Linked DNA regions of Homo sapiens: region 1 is linked to region 2. The links are contacts of gene promoters, found by promoter capture Hi-C in human tissues and cell types (Jung and others, 2019). All regions are on one chromosome and are shown on one strand. The core of a region is centred on a gene start or on the middle of the fragment in contact, and the rest is flanking DNA. Distances in the headings are between cores, read along the strand shown. Region 1 overlaps MCU (mitochondrial calcium uniporter). Region 2 holds the start of NUDT13 (nudix hydrolase 13).

Region 1 (5,030 bases), core at 1,927-4,426, 410 kb before region 2:
ATTCTTTTTATTTTTTATTGTTTTGAGAGACAGTCTTGTTCTCTTAACCAGGCTACAGTGCAGTGGTGTGGTCATAGCTTGCTGGAACCCTCAACTCCTGGGCTTAAGCAGTCCTCCCACTTCAGCCTCTTGAGTAGCTGGGTATATAGGCATGTGATGTGTCACCATGCCTAGCTCATAAAAAGAATTTTTTTTTTTTTTGGAGAAACAGTCTTGCTATGTTGCCCAAGCTGGTTTCTTAACTCCTGGCTTCAATAGATCCTCTCACTTTAGCCTCCCAGAGTGTTGGGATTACAGGCATGAGCTACCACATCCAGCACAAAATCATGCTTATTTTAAAACTCATAAAATATCTGAATAAATGAACTTGGATATCTTAAAATTCTGATTATTTGAACTTTTCTAAGTCCCAAGTGGCTTTTCTTTATGCTTCATGTAATTCTTTTCTTTAACATGAAATCTAAATAGAAAATACAGCATCAAGAGTGGTTTAAGTCAAAGGCAATACATTGGTAGGAAATCATTCAGATGATGTTATCAATGAAATGCTCTTTTATTTCAACTTCAAACATGAGGTAGCCCTAAAACAAAAAATGATTTGCTATCAACTGCTAGGATGTTTTTATTTCTTCTTATGTTTTAGCTTTGCATCCCTATAGATTTTCTTAAAAATTACTGTTTGTTTTCCTGTGATTAAGGTCAAGATTACCTTTTAATATCTCAGGATAGCTGTTAGAATAGAGGATTCAAAGGCTGATAGCCTCACAGAGTCTTACTCTGTCGCCCAGGCTGGAGTGCAGTGGCGCAATCTTGGCTCACTGCAACCTCCGCCTCTCGGGTTCAAGCAATTCTTCTGCCTTAGCCTCCCGAGTAGATGGGGCTAAAGGCACGCGCCACCACGCCCAGCCAATTTTTGTATTGTTAGTAGTGATGGTGTCTCACCATGTTGGCCAGGCTGGTCTTGAGCTCCTGACCTCAGGTGATCGGCCTGCCTCAGCCTCCCAAAGTGCTGGTATTACAGGCGTGAGCCACCATGCTCAGCCCTTTATTCTTTTTTTTTGAGACGAGGTCTTACTCTGTTGCCCAGGCTGAAGTATAGTAGTCTGATCATGGCTCACCGCAGCCTTGAACTCCTGGGCTTAAGTGATCCTCCGACCTCAGCCTTTTGAATAGCTAGGACTACAGGCACAATCCACCACACTGGGCTAATTTTTAAATTTTTTGTAGAGATGAAGTCTCACTATGTTGCCCATGTTGGTCTTGAACTCCTCGGCTCAAGCAGTCCTCCTGCCTTGGCCTCCCAAAGTACTGGGATTATAGGGTGAGCCACCGTGCCCGGACTCTTTATTCTTTGATTAATGCCATACCATGGCTCATGGATATATTAGAATTACTAGGATAACATGTTAGGAAAACTAAGATGTTACTGTGGAAGTTGTGCACTTTAAAGAATCTTAAACGTTTGCCAGCCGTAGTGGCTCATGCCTGTAATCCCAGCACTTTGGGAGGCCGAGGCGGGCGGATCATGAGGTCAGGAGTTCGAGACCAGCCTGACTAATATGGTGAAACCCCGTCTCTACTAAAAATACAAAAAAATTAGCTGGGTGTGGTGGTGCGCGCCTGTAATCCCAACTACTCGGGAGGCTGAGGCAGGAGAATTGCTTGAATCCGGGAGACGGAGGTTGCAGTGAGCCGAGATCATGCCACTGCACTCCAGCCTGGGTGACAGAGCAACACTCCGTCCCGGAAAAAGGGAAAAAAAAGAACCTTAGTGATTAGAGTTCAGTAAGACCTTATATTGAGGAAACAAGAGTATGAGTGGTGAAATGGCTTTTTTTTTTTTTTTTATTGAGATGGAGTCACGCTGTCGTCCATGCTGGAGTGCAGTGGCGCTATCTCTGCTCTCTGCAGTCTCTGTCTCCTGGGTTCAAGTGATTCTGCTGCCCCAGCCTCCTGAGTGGCTGGGACTACAGGTGTGCGCCACCGCCCCCTGCCGATTTTTGTATTTTTAGTAGAGATGGGGTTTTGCCATGTTGGTTAGGCTGGTCTCGAACTACTGACCTCAGATGATCTGCGTGTCTTGGCCTCCCAAAGTACTGGGGTTACAGGTGTGAGCCACTGCGCCCGGCCGAAATGGTTTTTTTCTTAGTAGCTCAGCATCTTAATACAGAACTGGAAATGGGTCACGCATCTTCTCATTTTCCTATTCAATTCTTTTCCTACTAAATTACACAATTCTTTGTTTCATTTAAAACACTTAAGCTGAGAGTGGTTCTAAAAAGTGGATTGGGGTCAAATTTTTTTTTTTTTTTTTTGAGATGGAGTTTCGCTGTTGTTGCCCAGGCTGGAGTGCAATGGTGTGATCTCGGCTCACTACAGCCTCTGCCCCCAGAGTTCAAGCGATTCTCCTGTCTCAGCCTCCTGAGTAGCGGGGATTACAGGCACCTGCCACCATGCTGGGCTAATTTTTTGTATTTTTATTGGAGACAGGATTTCGCCATGTTGGCCAGGCTGGTCTTGAACTCCTGGCCTCAGGTGATCCCCCCACTTCAGCCTTGGAAAGTGTTGGGATTACAAGGCGTGAGCCACTGTGCCCGGCCAAATTCTTAAAGTACCTAACGTCAAAGTCAGTCTTGAATAATTACTCTCTAATTTAGATTAAGCTTGATAATAACTGTTAAAAAACCTTTCCTCTGTAGGTTGAACACAAAAGGAAAACAATGCATTTATTTCACTGCACTTTGTTAAATGCTTGCAGTTAGCTTGTGTAAAAATGAAAGTTGGCTTCAAGCAAATTAATTTTAATAAGTTTAGTGAATTATTGGTCCAAAAACTGTGTACACACTTGAATCTTTTATATTGATAAAAATATAACTTCATAAATTTTTTCACCAATTGGGTCTAAAGCATGCTAAAGGTGGAACTTTTTCTAATGCAGTTCTGGAATAATTTGATGATATGACATCGCATTTTGACATCTCAAAGATATGAGCCTTTTCCAAAGGTTCTTTAATGATGTTAATACTATTTATTAATCCAGAAGAGTGGGTATTAATTTTTATGCTTTGTTCCTGAAGTTTTCAGTTTTTATGTATTTTTTCTTGCTATTTATTTTCCACTTTATTGTTTAGGGAGTGTTTGTAATAATCATCAGAAAACTACTGAGGAGTCCATTAGGTGTTTGAGACTGTGTAGACGACAGTTAGAAATGTACAGTCCTGAAGTGTACTGCCTTGTAGGTATCAATATCATTTAAACTTCTTTTTTGTCTGCTGAGACACGCCTACTTTGTACCTCTTTTCTATGATAAGTAATGTAAGAGGATGTTTAAGAGCACTGTATTAATATCTGCTTTAAACTTTAGTTCAGAGAAAGTTAGTATGACTGATAAATTGTCAGATAATAAGAGAGCATATAGGTTAGCTTGAACCACTTGGTTTCTATAGATAGAGGAATAGATATAGAAGAAACCATCTAAGACCTGAGGACATTGTTACTTCATTTAATTTTTACTATAACCCTATGAGAGGTATTAACCCAGTTTTATAGATTTAAGTGTCATAAACTGGTTTAGTGCTAGGGATGCACTGAAAGGCAGGACGCATGTTTTGGATTTAAGCCTGAGTCTGGCTAGAGTGAGAACTGTACTGTTCTGGGTGTCAGTGTGGGTCATCCTTCCTTTTCCTTTCTGCTCCTTTAGCATGTTCTTCCTCAAGTATCTGCTGCTGTTTTCCTTCAAGAGATCTCGACATCCTTCCTACTGACTACATTTCTTGTTGTTTTGAGACGGAGTCTTACTCTGTCGCCCAGGCTGGAGTGCAGTGGTGCGATCTCGGCTCACTGCAAGCTCCGCCTCCCAGGTTCAAGTCATTCTCCTGCCTCATCCTCCCGAGTAGCTGGGACTACAGGTACACACCACCACGCCCGGCTAATTTTTTGTATTTTCTTCTTAGTAGAGATGGGGTTTCACCATGTTAGCCAGGATGGTCTCGATCTCCTGACCTCATGATCTTCCTGCCTCGGCCTCCCAAAATGCTGGGATTACAGGCGTGATCCACCGTGCCCGGCCCCCACTGACTACATTTCTTAAATTTCTTTCCTCACCCTCCCCTCCCGGTGTTAGCTGTTAGAGGTCTAAGATATGTGCTTCTTGGAGATATTCCTAATTTAGTTTGGATTTCTAAAATGTCCCACCCAGCCGGGCGCTGTGGCTCATGCCTGTAATCCCAGCCTTTTGGGATACTGAGATGGGGGAATCACCTGAGGTCAGGAGTTCAGGACCAGCCTGACCAACATAGTGAAACCCCATCTCTATTAAAAATACAAAAAAAATTAGCCAGTCATGGTTGGGGGGGAGGGGGGCGCCATAATTCCAGCCACTTGGGAGGCCGAGGCAGGAGAATTGCTGGAACCCAGGAGGCAGAGGTTGCAGTGACCCGAGATCGCACCACTGCACTCCAGCCTGGGCGACAGAGCAAAACTCTGTCTCAAAAAAAAAGAAAAAAAAAAGAAGAAGAAAAAGAAAAAAATAAGTCCCATCCAGTAAACCTGGTAATTACTGAGTTGCTTCTATACCAGATACTTTTATAACATTCTCTAGTGTACTCTACAACAGTCCTTCTGGCAAAATACTATTCCCATTGTACAGATGGAAAATGAAGACTTAGAAGGGTTTGGTAACCTGGAGACATTCAGAAAATATCTGTGGAACTCCTGCATTTTGTGAGGCACTGCCCAGGGCATTGGAGAGAGAGATGCCTTTGTGGTGGTCCTAAAAGAGTTCACAGTCTGGCCAGGAGACATTGTACAAACAGACTATAAATGGCTGTGCTTCTTTTTTTTCTAAAGAATGTTCAGCGGGAGCACTTGGGACCTACCTGTGAGAGCTGAGGAAGGCTTCACAGAAGAGGTCTTGCTTAAGAGGAAACATTTGGGGCCAGGTGCAGTGGCTACGCCTGTAATCCCAACGCTTTGGGAGGCTGAGGCGAGTGGATCACCTGAGGTCAGGAGCTCAAGACCAGCCTGGCCAA
Region 2 (5,021 bases), core at 1,992-4,491:
TTTTTTTTTTGAGATGGAGTTTCACTCTGTTGCCCAGGCTGGAATGTAGTCGCTCAATCTTGGCTCACTGCAACCTCCACCTCCTGGGTTCAAGCGATTCTCTTGTCTCAGCCTCCCGAGTAGCTGGGGCTACAAGAGCACGCCACCACACTTGGCTCATTTTTGTATTTTTAGTAGAGACGGGGTTTCACGATATTGGCCAGGCTGGTCTCAAACTCCTGACCTTGTGATCCACCCGCCTTGGCCTCCCAAAGTGCTGGGATTACAGGTGTGAGCCACCGCGCCTCCCCTACTTAATTTTTCTAAGCCTATGTTTTCTCATCTGTAACGTGCAATTTTTTTTTTTTTAGACAGGGTGTCTCTGTCACCAAGCTGGATGGAGTGCAGCATCATGATCTCGGCTCACTCCTGGGCTCAAGCAGTCCTCCTATCTCAGCCTCCTGAGTAGCTGGGACCGCAGGTGCATGCCACCATGCCCAGCTAATTTTCGTATTTTTTGTAGAGATGGTGTTTTGTCATGTTGCTCAGGCTGGTTTCTTGAACTCCTGAACTCAAGCAATCTTCCCACCTCAGTCCCCAAAGTGCTGGGATTACAGGCGTGTGCCACCACACGTAGCCTAAAGTACAAATTTTAATACAGATTTCATAGGATGTGAGGATTAATGACAAATATGTGGGACACTTAGCATAGTGCCTGGAACACAGCAAATGCTCAGTCTGAGCTATTTTTATTATTATAGCACTTAACAATTACTACAAAAAGTTATTTTGACTTTTTAAATTATTAGAGCCCCAATTTCCCCCTAAGCATCCTTAGAATCCATTGACTTTATATCTTGTTTCCCTACAATTTTCTGTGTCTTCCTTAAGGATAATGAACCAATCTGATTTTTTTTTTTTTTTTTTCAGACAATGTCTCGCTCTGTCACCCAGGCTGGAGTGCAGTGGCGCAATCTCAGCTCACTGCAACCTCTGCCTCTCGGGTTCAAGCGATTCTTGTGCCTTAGCCTCCCAAGTAGCTGGGACTACAGGTATGTGACACCAGACCTGGCTTAATTTTGTATTTTTAGTAGGGTTTCACCATGTTGGCCAGGCTGGTCTAAAACTCCTGACCTCAAATGATGTGCCCACCTCGGGCTCCCAAAGTGCTGGGATTACAGGCATGAGCCACCATGCCCGGCCTACTCTGATCTCATCTCTGATCACCATGCTCTTTCCTAGCCTTTCCTCAAACGGCACACTCCCACCCCAGGGCCTTTGCATATGCTTATTTTGCTCTGTCTACAAATCTCTTTCCATAGATATAAATTTGGTTTCTTCATCACCTTCTTCAGGGTCTTTGTTTAAATATTATCTTAACAATGAGGCTGACCATCCTATATAAAATAGCAAAATAATCCCTCTACTTATCTTGCTTTATTTTTCTTCTTAAGCTTTATAACCACGACACATTGTATATTTACTCGTTTGTTTCCCCTTCTAGAATGTAAGTTACATGAGGACAGAGATTTTCATGTTTTGTTCCCTGCTGTATCCTATCCCTATAACAGTCCTAGGCACATTGGGTACTCATTAAATACATGTTGAATGAGTGGACTTCTTCTCTTGGCTGGGTGCGGTGGCTCACGCCTGTAATCCCAGCACTTTGGAAGGCTGAGGCGAGTGGATCACTTGAGGTCAGAAGTTTAAGACAGCCTGGTCAACATGGCGAAACCCTGGCTTTACTAAAAATACAAAAATTAGCCAGGCATGGTGGTGTGCACCTGTTATCCCAGCTGCTCGGGAGGCTGAAGCAGGAGAATCACTTGACTCCGGAGGAGGAGGTTTCAGTAAGCCAAGATTGTACGTACCACTGCTCTCCAACCTGAGCGACAGAGCAACTCCATCTCAAAAAAAAAAAAAGTGTCTTCTCTCATAGGCAAGTAACTTCAGTAGTAAAACGAGAAGAGAGCAGCACCAAAGTAGCTCTGCTGAGAGGTGAAGCCAGCTGGACTTCCTGGGTGGAGTGGGGACTTGGTGAACTTTTCTGTCTAGTTAGAGAATTGTAAATGCACCAATCAGCACACTGTAAAAATGCACCAATCAGCACTCTGTGTCCAGCTAAAGGATTGTAAACACACCAATCAGCACTCTGTAAAAATGCACCAATCAGCGCTCTGTGTCTAGGTAAAGGATTGTAAACGCACCAATCAGCACTCTGTTTCCAGCTAAAGGATTGTAAACACACCAATCAGCACTCTGTAAAAATGCACCAATCAGTGCTCTGTGTCTAGCTAAAGGATTGTAAACACACCAATCAGCACTCTGTGTCTAGCTAAAGGATTGTAAATGCACCAATCAGCACTGTGTCTAGCTAAAGGATTGTAAACGCACCAATCAGCACTCTGTAAAAACGCACCAATCAGCACTCTGTGTCTAGCTAAAGGATTGTAAATGCACAAATCAGCACTCTGTCAAATGGACCAATCAGCACTCCATAAAATGGACCAATCAGTGCTCTGTAAAATGGACCATTCAGCAGGATGTGGGCAGGGACAAATAAGGGAATAAAAGCTGGCACCCCCAACAGCAGCGGCAACCTACTCGGGTCCCCTTCCACGCTGTGGAAGCTTTGTTCTCTCGCTCTTCACAATAAATCTTGCTGCTGCTCACTCTTTGGGTTCGTGCCACCTTTAAGAGCTATAACACTCACCGAAAGCTCCACGGCTTCATTCTTGAAGTCAGCAAGACCAAGAACCCACTGGAAGGAACCAACTCCGGACACACTTCTAGGAGACTACTTCCAGTCAAATGGAATGCGCTTCCTCTGATCAAGAAATGAATCCTACCATAAGTTCAAACATATCTATACATACCTATACAGAGTCCCATCCTTTTAAATTGGAAGAACTTCATGAAATTTTAGAGCTAGTTCTAAAGTGTGCAGAGAGAGAACTAGAGATATACTAAGGTTAAAAGGTATTTGATTCCCACCCCTGCTTCATCCTCTCCCCAGCCTCATAATATATGCCTTCTGTGTATGAGGGTGGACTTAATGACTTTATCTTTTTTTAATTAAAAAATGGATCTAATACTAACCTACTTTCTCCAAGGATACAGTAGTTCTCTTGGTAATAAGATCTTAGATGTTCATGCTTTTGACAATCATGGTTAACTTGCAGCTGGAGAACACAGCAGCATGCCTGGGAACTGAACTACAATTCCCAGAGTGCATCTCTAGGAGGATTCTGGGAAGTGTGGCAGAAGCAGCAATGGTCCCTCCAGGGAACGGAAGCCGTTGAACGTGAACATTTGGAGTTTCCTCTTTTGTGCTGATTCCTGAGGACTAGGAAGGTGCCCCGAAAAGAATTCAGAGTGAGTACAGTGAAACAGAAACCTGCTCAGCTTCTAAGTGCAGGAAGGACTTCACAGGGAGGCATGATCAGAACTTGAAAAAAGGTCGTGGTCACAGCATTTTAACATTTTAGCTTAATCTCTTCCTTTTTGCAGAAACCAGGGATATAACCATAGTTTTGCCTCATAACTGTGGAGCTACATCAGTAACCACAGCTCATCATTTTCTGATACTTTTTTGGAGAGTCATTTAAAAATGGAACTTGCCAACCTCTCACATTGTGCCTTAATTTTTATTTTTTTTTAAAGGAGGGAAAATTATTTTTTAGAAAGCAAACTATAAAGCAGGTCAGTGAGACCTTCAAAGCTGTATTCCCGTGGTTCCTCAGTTTTCCATATTTCCCTGTCCCATGGAGGTCCACAGTCGTGGAGAAACGGACTCTAAACACAGGCGAAGTATCACTTGGTCGCCCAGGCTGGAGTGCAGTGACACGATCTCCACTCACTGCAAGCTCCGCCTCCTGGGTTCATGCCATTCTCCTGCCTCATACTCCCTAGTAGCTGGGACTACAGGCGCCCGCCACCACGCCCAGCCACTTTTTTTTGTATTTTTAACAGAGACGGGGTTTCACCGTGTTAGCCAGGATGGTCTCGATCTCCTGACCTCGTGATCCGCCCACCTCGGCCTCCCAAAGTGCTGGGATTACAGACGTGAGCCACCGCGCCCGGCCTAAAAAAAGGTCTCTTAAATACTAGGGAACCTGGCCTCTTCACGGTGGAAGTAACCACTAGATTCAAGATGGGCTTTTTTTGTTTTGTCTTGTTTTGTTTTGTTTTTTTGTTTTGAGACGGAGTCTCGCTCTGTCGCCCAGGCTGGAGTGCAGTGGCGCGATCTCGGCTCACTACAAGATGGGCTTTTTTGTCACGCTGTAGTACTTTATAATCTTTCTTCTGGAAAGATGAACAGGATAAGAAACGTGTGAATCATTTGTGTTGGGGAGTTCAAAGAAACTCTTAATGTTAAAGCACCTTGCCTCATCATTTAGTAGTTGGGTAAGACTGCTATTACCTTTCATCTCTATCAAACATTGTACTTTTAAAAACATAAATAGCTCTGTGACCATCAGCTCATGAGTCAGCAGCCATGATAATCTACAACTGGCTAAGGTTAATTTAGTAGCAGAAACTAGGCAAAACATCAGGCAGCAGTTCCCAAGGTCCAAGAAACTCACCAAATGAATTCCCTTTGGCTCATGGAATATGGTGAGGTGTTTTGGGGAACAGTGGCATGGAGGTAGCCTCATTAACCAGTTAGTCTCAGGAACTACTATTTTATTAGGCTTTTCTTTTGTCTTAAAAGGAATAAGTACACATGGCTAATTTTTTTTTCAGTACAGAAAAATGAACAAAATAAAAATTACAGGCACCTTTTTCAATATTTGTCTTCATCCCACTCCCCCAAATTAGTCACTCTTTAATAGTTTGGTATGTATACTTCTAGTCATTTGAAAAATATAAATAAGGCCGGGGGCAGTGGCTCTTGCCTGTAATCCCAGCACTTTGGGAGACCCAGGCAGGCAGATCACCTGAGAACAGGAGTTCGAGACCAGCCTGACCAACATGGAGAAACCCCATCTCTACTAAAAAAAATACAAAATTAGCTAGGCGTGGTGGCGTATGCCTGTAAT

Evidence for each region. The method cuts DNA at HindIII sites, captures the fragments that hold promoters and counts their contacts. A contact is called where the count stands out against the background at its distance.
Region 1: a contact is called between a fragment that was not itself captured here and the fragment with the promoter of NUDT13 in region 2, in 1 of the 25 tissues and cell types used here (dorsolateral prefrontal cortex).

Annotation. Positions count from the first base shown.
Region 1 is chr10:72,697,762-72,702,791 of GRCh38, forward strand. The region is part of intron 1 of MCU (mitochondrial calcium uniporter); the gene reads left to right. Among named protein-coding and RNA genes, the nearest start is that of MCU, 8.1 kb to the left of the region's middle. The HindIII fragment of the contact is 4,583 bases long and covers 886-5,030 here.
Region 2 is chr10:73,107,214-73,112,234 of GRCh38, forward strand. NUDT13 (nudix hydrolase 13) reads left to right here and starts at 3,242. Exons shown (of 9, transcript NM_015901.6): 1 at 3,242-3,354. RefSeq lists a silencer at 1-214. The HindIII fragment of the contact is 13,958 bases long and covers 2,022-5,021 here.